Linked DNA regions of Homo sapiens: regions 1 and 3 are each linked to region 2. Evidence: promoter capture Hi-C in 16 types of primary human blood cells and fetal thymus (Javierre and others, 2016). All regions are on one chromosome and are shown on one strand. Each heading gives the region's core, a stretch centred on a gene start or on the middle of the fragment in contact. The rest is flanking DNA. Distances are from core to core; before and after follow the strand shown.

What was found. The method cuts DNA at HindIII sites, captures the fragments that hold promoters and counts their contacts. A CHiCAGO score of 5 or more calls a contact.
Region 1: a fragment that was not itself captured here is called in contact with the fragment with the promoter of CNEP1R1 in region 2 in 5 of 17 cell types (erythroblasts, M2 macrophages, activated CD4 T cells and 2 more); the score reaches 8.2 in erythroblasts.
Region 3: a fragment that was not itself captured here is called in contact with the fragment with the promoter of CNEP1R1 in region 2 in 3 of 17 cell types (neutrophils, monocytes and naive CD8 T cells); the score reaches 9.3 in neutrophils.

The regions. Positions count from the first base shown.
Region 1 is chr16:50,509,918-50,513,504 of GRCh38, forward strand. No RefSeq gene overlaps it. Among named protein-coding and RNA genes, the nearest start is that of NKD1, 37 kb to the right of the region's middle. The HindIII fragment of the contact is 1,132 bases long and covers 851-1,982 here.
Region 2 is chr16:50,023,095-50,026,495 of GRCh38, forward strand. It overlaps CNEP1R1 (CTD nuclear envelope phosphatase 1 regulatory subunit 1), which reads left to right and starts at 2,131. Exons shown (of 6, transcript NM_001281789.2): 1 at 2,131-2,246; 2 at 3,302-3,373. The coding sequence starts at 2,222. RefSeq lists an enhancer at 1,820-2,321 and a silencer at 2,135-2,444. The HindIII fragment of the contact is 11,127 bases long and covers 1-3,049 here.
Region 3 is chr16:50,379,888-50,383,400 of GRCh38, forward strand. No RefSeq gene overlaps it. Among named protein-coding and RNA genes, the nearest start is that of BRD7, 13 kb to the left of the region's middle. The HindIII fragment of the contact is 2,544 bases long and covers 390-2,933 here.

The DNA of each region.
Region 1 (3,587 bases), core at 167-2,666, 490 kb after region 2:
ACCATACTGTGCCATTTGCATGGTAGTTTATGTGGGTAGCATCCCTTAGAGTTGTGCAGCGTGCAACCCTCACTGCCAAACATGCTGGTCCTCTTTGTTCTTCCCTAGCCCAGGGCTCTGGTGTTTGCTGTTTGCTCACCAGGTAGGAAGATGCTATGTCGCAGAGACCAGAACCTGATGTTGTCCCAAGACAAGCTCCCCTCTTGGCTTTTGGTTTTAAAAGTATAATTTCACTGCAAGGATTTTACTGGACCAGTGGTTCTCAAACTTGAGCACGCACCAGTATCCCTTGGAAGGTTTGCCGAAACACAGATTACTGAGTTCCACTCCCAGAGTATCTGGTTCAGTAAGTATTAAGATGGCGTAAAAATGAATGTGCATTTGAAACAAATTTCCAGGTGGTGCAGGAGCTGCTGGTCCAGGACCACACTTTGAGGATTACCGTATTAGATTATCCTGTCAGGGAGAGGGAGGAGGAGAGAGACTCTGAGTGGAGGAGGTTGACTTTGGGAGAGGAGGTGATGAGAGGAAAATTAAAGTCCCTGAGAGTGTGAATTCTATAATCCTTAAAGTAGTAGGACAGTACCTGGGAAGAGGGGGGTGGTGGTCCCTCCAAAGGAAACAGCTACACCTAGAGTGGCTGGACTGAGTTTCTAGGCCTTGGCAAAGATCCTATGCTCAGGTGTGGCTGGAGGCATCATAGCTGCAGCCTCTGAGGGACCCTGTAGTGTTGTGCAGCTCTGCTGTGGGGTGGGGACCCATCAACAGTGACCAGTCAGGCTGCTGGGAGGGTGCTTGGAGTCATATTTCTTTAGTCTTATTATTTACTATTTATTAAAAATATTTTCCAAGCTTTATTGAAGTATACTTGGCAAGTTAAAATTGTATATATTTGCAGTGTACAATGTGATATTTTTGAAATACATACACATTATGAAATAATTACCAACATCAAGCTAATTAACATGACCATCACCTTACATAATTGTGTGTGTGTGTGTTGGGAATATTTAAGATCTATTCTCTTAGTAAATTTAAAGTATACAGTATGACTTTAACTATAGTCACCATACTGTACCTTAGATATCCACAACTTATTCATTCTTCAAAGCTGAAACTTTGATCCCTTTGACCATTTCCCACAGCCCTAGCACTGACAACCACTATTCTATTCAATCTTCTGTGAGTTCAGCTTTTTAAGATTCCACATATAAGTGAGATCATACAGTATTTGTCTTTCTGTTTGGCTTTTTCACTTAACATTATGTCCTCCAGGTTCACCCATGTTGTCACAAGTGACTGGATTTCCTTTTACTCTAAGACTGGATAGTATTCCATTGTATGTGTGCAACACACACACACACACACAATTTTCTTTATCCATTCATTCATTGATGTAGTCTTAGTTGTATGGAACATGATGATGTTCCATATCTTGGCTATTGTGAATATTGCTGCAGTGAACTTGAGAGTCTATTTGAGATACTGATTTCACATCCTCCAGATATATACCTGGAAGTGGATTGCTCGATCATATGGTTGTTCTAGTTTTAACGTTTTGAGGAACATCCATAATGTTTTCCATAATGGCTGTACCAATTTACATTCCCAACAACAGTGTATGAGGGTTCATTTTTCTCTACATTCTTTCAAATACGTACCTTTTGTCTTTTTGATTATGGCAGTTCTAATAGGTGTGAGGTGATCTCATTGTGGTTTTGATTTACATTTCCCTCATTAGTGATATTGAGCATTTTTTAATATACCTGTTGGCCACTTGTGTGTCTTCTTTTGAGAAATGTCTACTTAGGTCATTTGTCCTTTTAAAAATTGGGTTGTTTCCTTGCTATTGAGTTGCTTGAGTTCCTTATATATTTTTGAAATTAATCCATTATCAGACATATTGTTTGCAAATATTTTCTCCTATCCCATAGATTATCTCTTAACTCCTATTCCACAGGTTGTTTCCTTTGCTATGCAGAAGCTTTGTAGTTTGATGTAATTCCATTTGTCTATTTTTGCTTTTGTTGCCTGTGCTTTTGAGGCCATATCCAAAAAATCATTGCCTAGATCAATGTCAAGAAGCTTTTTCACTGTGTTTTCTTCTAGTAGTTTTATTGTTTAGGCTTTGTGTTTAAGTCTTTACTCCATCTTGAGTTGATTTCTGTATATGATGTGAGATAAATGTCCAATTCCATTGTTCTGCCTTTGAATATCTAATTTTCCCAACATCATTTATTGAAGAGATTGTCCTTCCCCCATTTGTGTTCTTGGCACCTTAGTCAAAGATCAATTGACTGTAAATGTGTGGACCTATTCTGGGGCTGTCTATTCTACTCCACTGGTCTACATGTCTGTTTTTATGCTGGTATCAGGCTGTTTGATTACTATAGCTTTGTCCTATATTTTAAAATCAAGTAGTGTGATGCATCCAGCTTTGTTCTTCTTGCTCAAGATTTCTTGTCTGTTTAGGATGTATTGTGGTTCCATATGAATTTTAGAATTGTTTTTTCTATTACTGTAAAAAATACCGTTGGGAATTTTGAAGGGATTGCATTGAATCTACAGTTTGATTTGGGTAGGGCTATAGTTTGAATGTGTTCCCCCAGAAACATGTGTTGTAAACTTAATCCCCAATGTGACAGTGTTGGCAGATGGGGCCTAATGGGAGGTGTTTAGGTCATGAGGTCTCCACCCTCCTGAATGAATTAATACCTATTGTAAAAAGATTTGAGGCTGTGAACTAGATCTTTTGTTCTCTTTCACCCTCTCTTTGACTTTACACCATGGATGACACAGCAAGAAGGCCCTCACCAGATGACAGCCCCTCAATCTTGGATTTCCTAGACTCCAGAGCTGTAAGACATAAATTTCTTTTCTTTGTAAATAACCCAGTCTCTGGTATCCTGTTATTACATGCACAAAGCAGACTAAGACAGGCAGTATGGATATTTTAATAATATTAATTCTTCAAATCCAGGAACATGAGATATCTTTCCATTTATTTGTGTCTTCTTCAATTTCTTTCATCAGTGTGTTACAGTTCTCGATGTACAGATCTTTCACTTCCTTGGTTAAATTCATTCCTGAATTTTTTTGATGCTGTTGTACATGGGATTGTATTCTTAATTTATTTTTCAAATATTTTGTTGTTAGTATAGAGAAATCCCACTGATTAAAATTTTTTTTTAAGAGATGGGGTCTTGCTGTGTTGCCAAGGCTGGCCTCAAACTCCTAGGCTCAAGTTATCCCATTGTCTCAGCCTCTCAAGTAGCTAGGACTACAAGTGATCACCATCATGCTTGGAATCCACTGATTTTTGTATGCTCATTTTGTATCCTGCAACTTCACTGAATTCTTTTATTAGTTTTAACAATTTGTGGTGGAGTCTTTGGGGTTTTCTATATTTAAGATGTTGTCAGCTGAGTGCGATGGCTCACACCTGTAATCCCAGCACTTTGGGAAGCTGAGGCAGGCAATCAGATCACTTGAGCTCAGGAGTTAACCAGCCTGGGCAACATGGTAAAACCCCATCTTTACAAAAAAATTAGCCAGGTGTGGTGATGTACCTCTGTAGTCACAGCTAC
Region 2 (3,401 bases), core at 881-3,380:
GAGAGCTTTATTTCTGCTTGTTTGTTTGTTTGTTTGTTTGTTTGTTTGTTGAGACAGGGTCTTGCTCTGTTGCCCCAGCTGGAGTGCAGTGGTGCAATCATAACTCACTGCAGCGCCGAACTCCTGGGTTCAAGCAATCTTCCTGCCTCAGCCTCCTGAGTATCTGGGACCACAGCCACATGCCACCATGCCCAGCTAATTTTTAAATGTTTTTTGTTTGTTTGTTTGTTTTTTGTAGAGACAGAATCTCACTATGTTGCCCAGGTTGGTCTGGAACTCCTGGACTCAAGTGATCCTCCCACTTCAGCCTCCCAAAGTGTTGGAATTACAGGCATCAGCCACTGTGCCTGGCCTAAAGAGGTTTATTTCTGAAGGGTTGGAGCCTGCAGGCTGGCCATCCTTATAGGCTGGGAAGTATGGTCTCTGGCAGAGACCAAAAGCAGGCACTTTGAAGGAGGAAGGGTGAAGCAGGAATTTATGCCAAATGGGTTGGCCAAGTATACATATTTAACAGGTTATAGGAGAAGCTATTCAGGAAAGAGGGGTGCACACATGCATAATAAACAATCATGCATGTTACATGGGTCACATGTTCACTTTGGGGTAGAGACTTAACATTTAAATGCATTACAGTTAGACCCTTTACGTCAAAAGGCGAAGCAGAGAACATAAAGGCACTCATTGTGCAGCCTCTGTAGACTGGCTAGGGCCAATCTATGGTGGGTGGTCTCTTATCAGGAGAAAGTTACTGAAATCAGTCTCTTGTCTAATGAAAGCAGGAGTTATGGCTTGTGGAACAAAGGGATCAGTTAGTCAGTGACTGGTACTTGGTAAGCTGCAATTGTTTTAATATTGCTTGTTTAGCTGCTAGAGGAAAAAAACGAACATTGTGGCAGTTAGAACATCGTTTATTCTTTAAGTGTCTGGGTCTTGAGTGATTTAACCCTTGCCTGGCAGGGCCTTAGGTCTTGTTTATAAGTTGGTATGTTACTGCCACAAAAAAATCTAGCCCATCAGTCTTAGATTCTTTTTTTTTTCTTTTTCTTTTTTGACAGTCTCACGCTGTCACCCAGGCTGGAGTGCAGTGGCTCACTGCAACCTCCGTCTCCTGGGTTCAAGTGACTCTCGTGCCTCAGCCTCCCAAAGAGCTGGGATTACAGGCATGCACCACCACGTCTGGATAATTTTTTTGTATTTTCAGTAGAAACAGGGTTTTGTCATGTTGCCCAGGCTGGTCTCAACTCCTGACCTCAAGTGATCCACGCGCCTCAGCCTCCCAGAGTGTTGGGATTAACAGGCGTGAGCCACCGCGCCCGGCCAGGATCTCTATTTTAACACAACTATTCTTATTTGAAATCAATTACTTATTTGCATGTTTGTTGCCTGCTGTAGCCCTTCCTCTTTGCGGGCAGGAATCCTGTCTACCTGGCTCACACGCGTATCAATACAGTGTCTAGCATGTTAGGCAATAAAATGATTTTGAATGAAAGAATGCCACCAATAAATGAACAAGAAGGCCTTGTGATCAAATACAAATGTAGTCAATCCCTTACAGATCTCTTCTTAAGTTATAGGTATTTGGGCTTACACTTTGCCTCATTTAGGAATTATGAAAGCTGGGTGATGTGAGAGGAAAGTAACCAAGAGAGAAGTGTTTACTTAAGGGGTTGGTTATCTAGGATACCATAATTAAGGAAACTGGTTATTTAGGGTTCTAGTTAGTTCTGTACAGATTTCATTACTCCTTGAGATCCTTGAGGACAGAACCAGCTCTTTGATTTCTGTATCCCTCGCTAGCGACCAGAATAATGCCTGGAAGGTAGTGGGCGCTCAATCAACATTTGACGAATGAAAGAACCAAGCGGGGAACGGGGGATAAATGAATGAACGAACTGGCTCCGGAGGGCTGCAGTTCCTCCCCGGGGCAGCAGGCGACGCCAGCGTTACGCCCGCCTGGCCGCCGGCAGTTCTTGGTCCCTCCGGCTGACCGTCCAACGCTAGGCGCCGAGGCCGGTGCAAGAGACAGCCAATAGAAAGCTGTCTTAGTTGGAGGTCTAGTAGAGGAATCCAATGAGCGTAGCGGGTCTAGGCAAGGGGCGGTGCGACGGGGAGGGGCAGCGGGGAGCGGTTAGAGGTGGGAGTTGGCGCTGCGGGCCGGGCGGGGGCCGCGGAAGCTGCGATGCGGACAGGGCAGCGGCGGTGACCCGAGCTGCCGCCCGACATGAACTCGCTGGAGCAGGCGGAAGGTAGGGTGGGCCGCCCGGGCCCGTCCCCCGTCTCCCCTCGGAAGCTGGCGGTGCTCCGGAGGAGCCGGCGTCGTGAAGACCCCCGCCCCGGGAGGAGGCCGCAGAGGATGGAGCTAGGGGCCCGGAGCTTGGGGGCGCGTAGGCGGCCGTACCTGGCCAGACGCGGGGGGCGGTGCCTCAGCTCCCTGAGTCCCCACAAACCTAGAGGGTCGACCTCCTCGCCAGCTTCTATTTTTATTTTCTTTTCACTGGCAGACACTTGCACTTCGTGCATTGCAGCCTGCTAATTCATTTCATTTCATTCTCACAGCCCCGCGAGTTGTATCCCTGATTCCTGCGGTGGTTTCCGGTAACTGCCAAGGTTAGGAAGTGCTGCTCGGTGTTTTAAAGTTTAAAGCACACCACTGCGGAAAGGATACCCCACCACTCACTCGGAGCAGCTTAGACGCCCCTGTCTTCTAGAACTAGGCGCTGCCTGGGTGCCACGAAGATCACCTGTACCCCTTCGGAGGGGGCAAGGGGAATGTCTTTCCACACCCACTCGCTATCAGTGTCAAGAAGTCTAGTAAGGCCAGACGGCGTAGCCATTAATTAAATATAAGAGCTGGAAACCGGAGGCGGGTAATTGCAGTCAGGTAGACCTCGAAGACTTTGATGTTAGGCACTACGTGGTTCTAATAGGAAGTTCTTGGTTCCCAGAGAGCTAAAACTCGACCTGATTTTAATTTTATTTGCAACCCTGAAAATGTTCGCTTTTGGCGCTGGCCGAGGCTGCTGCTTATTTCTCCCAATACCATTTATGAAGCTTCTAAAAGTAAATCAGCAAGTTTTCTTATATGAGAAATTGGAATTAAAGAGCCCTAATTTTTTGTCAAGTGCTTAAAAAGCTGTCATAGTAAATGAAATAAACAGTGCAGTGATACATGGAAGTTAGTGTGTAAGACCTGAAGCAGTTAAGAGTATCTCACATGTCGTCTTAATGTTAGGTAAATACTCTGACATTTCGTCAGACGAGTAAGAGTGGCTAATTAGAAAATTGACATCTTTATACCTAGATCTCAAGGCTTTTGAGAGGAGACTTACTGAATATATTCATTGTTTGCAACCTGCTACTGGACGCTGGAGAAGTAAGTTCCTGAATGTTATTTTAAGGGA
Region 3 (3,513 bases), core at 412-2,911, 360 kb after region 2:
AGGAATAGCCCCTCATCTGTGCACCCTGGCTATTGACTCAGCAAGAGCTGCCATATTTCCTGGCTTCCACTCTGCTCCGCCATAAATCCACTTTCCCCACCACAGCCAGAGTGACTTTGAAATACACAGATTTCCGGGCCAGGGGCAGTGGCTCACACCTGTAATCCCAGCACTTTGGGAGGCCAAGGTAGGAGGACCAGGAGTTTGAGACCAACCTGGGCAAGATAGTGAGAACCCCATCTCTGTTAAAAACAAAACACATGGATTTTTCTGTGGGTGGTGGTACGTTACAAAAATAAAAACAAAAACATAGATTATAGATTGGATTAGGCCACATCATCGTCCTGTTCATAACCCTTTGGGGGGTCTCCCATCTCAGATCAAGCCCAAGCTTTTTTCCTAAGCCTACAAGGCTCAGTGTAACCTGACCTCGTGCTCTTCTCTGACCCCGATTTCTGCCACTGCCTACTTCTACCCACTAATCTCCAGACATAATTTGCCTAATCTTAGTCCCTTGAACATGCCACACTCTTCCTCCATGCAGGCCTTTCACACATGCTATTCCCTTATTCTGGAATGCTGTTCCCACACTCTTCATATGGCTGGCCTCTTCTCATCTCTCACCACCTCAGAAAGGCAACCCTAAACTGCTCCAACAAGTCCCCTTTTAGTTTCTGTCTTTATTTATATATATATTTTGAGATGGAGTTTTGCTTTTGTCGCCCAGGCTGGAGTTCAGGTGCGAGATCTCAGATCACTGCAACCTCCACTTCCTAGTTTCAAGGGATTCTCCTGCCCCAGCCTCCCGAGTAGCTGAGATTACAGGTGCTCACCACCACACCCAGCTAATTTTTTGTGTTTTTGGTAGAGACGGGGTTTCGCCATGTTGGCCAGGCTGGTCTTGAACTCCTGACCTCAGGTTATCCACCTGCCTCGGCCTCCCAGAGTGCTGGGATTACAGGCGTGAGCCACTGCACCCGGACCTCTTTTAGTTTCTCTTATAGCACCCTGTGGTTTTTCTGTTTCTGATAAAACACATCACATTTGCAATTCCGTATTTATTTGTCTATTGTCTGCCTTCCCATAAGACTGAGAACTTCCTGAGGGCAAGAGCTGAGTCTATTCTGTTTTGTTCACTGGCACTTGACATGTACCTAATACATTTTTGTTGCCCAAATGATTAGACGGTTGAAGTCCTCTCTTGTGGAAGGCAGGACTTCCTTCTGTGTTCTTCCTTCTGGCAGTGACTTATTTCTCCTCCCAGGAGGGGATTGGAGAGAGGAGGTTTTGTCATGCTTCCCTCTGTCCCCCTCAAGGCACTCAACATGGTATTTGGCCCACCATGGGAGCCCAGTGGAGGATGATGAATGAATTCACATTAAATATGTTCTTCCTCTTCCCCCCAACTGCACAGCCAGCTACTCCTGGGAGAGGCATAAATAGTGACCTACAGGCCGGCTGCAGTGGCCCACACCTGTAATCCCAGCACTTTGGGAGGCCTAGGTTGGTGGATTACTGGAGGCCGGGAGTTGGAGATCAGCCTGGCCAACACGGGGAAACTCTGTCTCTACTAAAAATACAAAAATTAGCCAGGCATGGTGGCACATGCCTGTAATCCCAGCTTCTTGGGACGCTGAGGCACAAGAATTGCTTGAACCCTGGAGGTGGGGGTCTCAGTGAGCCAAGATTGTGCCACTGTGCTCCAGTCTGGGCAACAGAGCAAGACCGCCTCAAACAAAAATAAGTGACCTACACCATGAGACTTTGGAGTTGTCAAGCCTTTGCAAAATCTCAAACTCTCTCTTCTACTGATGTGAGTACTGTAGTGCCTGAGAGTCCATTACAACAGAGCAAGGGCAAGGTCTAAGAATCATCTTCCAAGGTCAGCACACCTGGAAGGGGTATTGCCTGAACTGAGCCTGGTAATTTCCTCCTGGGATGGGGAGGGTGGGGAGGGTGGAGAACACAGTGACAGCGCCCCCTGCCCCAGGCTTTCACTTCACCAGATATCCATTAAGCACAGTGATTGTTAGGGTCCACAGGGACTTCAGATACAAACAAGACACAGCCCCTAACCTCAGGAGGCTCAGGGTTTGGTGGAATAGACGCGTGACTTGCCCCCTTTCTGCCGTATGACACTTTGGGCTCGTTACTTGAAAGCCTTGGCTTCCTCATCTGTAAAATGGGGTTATAAATGTACCAATCTCATTGGTGATAATTCATTGAGTTGATGCATAAAAATGCTTAGGACAGGGCCAGGCTCAATAAGGGTGAGTAGTCAGTGTTATTATCTGCCATGCCTCAGGCAAGGTACAGAGTTTCCCCAAGGCTACTTGACCTCTTCCTGTTTACCCTGCCTCCTGGCCAGCTGCCCTCTGGTGGTAACTGTGCAGAGTGGTCGCCTGCCTCTGGCACCTGTCTGATCTGCCCCGGTCCTGCTGACCCCTCCTGTGGGCCTTTTGGTTGTCTGGACTCTTGGTATGTCCCAGGCCTTCCCTTTTTGCTAGGTTTCCAAGGCTGCTCTTCTGCGTCAGCAGGTTTCTCAGGCTTTTCAGACCCAAGTGACCATCTTGGGACATAGGCAGAGAGAAGCCTTGATGTTACTAGTTATTTCTGCCCATTGGGCACCAAATAAACACTTTCTCTAGCAACAGCCTCTTGACTTCCACTTAGAGAGCCTCCTCTCCCCACATGACCTAAGCCTGCCAATGAGAGTGTCACAGCCGCGAGGGCCAGTGAGGATTGGTTCAGGGGTGAGCATGTGACCCAGGCCTGCCAGTGAGAGTATCACAGCTGCCAGGACCAATGATTGGTTCAGAGGTGGGCCTGTGACTGGAATCTGGTTAATGAGAATATCATAGCCCCTGGCTTGGTGATTGGTACAGAGGTGGGCAGGGACTGAGGCTTGGCTTTGGTGGGACCTTTCCATGAAAAGCTTGCTGAGCCAGTGGTATGTCAGTCTGGTGCTTTTGGGGCTTGAGAGGAGGCCCTGCCTGAGAATAAAGCTAATGGTGGAGAAAGCAGAGCCAAGAGCTAGTGGCCTGGTGACAGTAATTGAGTCTCTGGATCCAGCTGAGCCTGAAGTTCATCAACCTCTTACACTTTTCAATCCAAGGGTTGAATAAATTCCCCCTCTGAGTTTTGTGTACTTTGAACTGGATTTCTAGCCCTTGCAACTGAAAGAACATAGGCTGACTTGTGTGTGCATGGACACACACACACACACACACACACACACACACACACACACACACTTCATTCAGTGCCTACTGAGGAGTCCCTCTGCTTAGGGAACTGAGCACTGCCTGTTCCCAGAGCATACAGAGGTGACCAGGACAGTTCCTGACCTCAGGAGTCCCAGGAATGGGGCAACAAGTCCGACTTCTTGCTCAGATACTTTTAAGTGTGGCGGGCCCATTCTCACCAGGGCCAGCTACGTCATTTGTAGGGCTGAGTGCAAAATGAACACGTGGGGTCCTTTGTTCAAAATTATTAAGAATTTCAAGGTAGGAA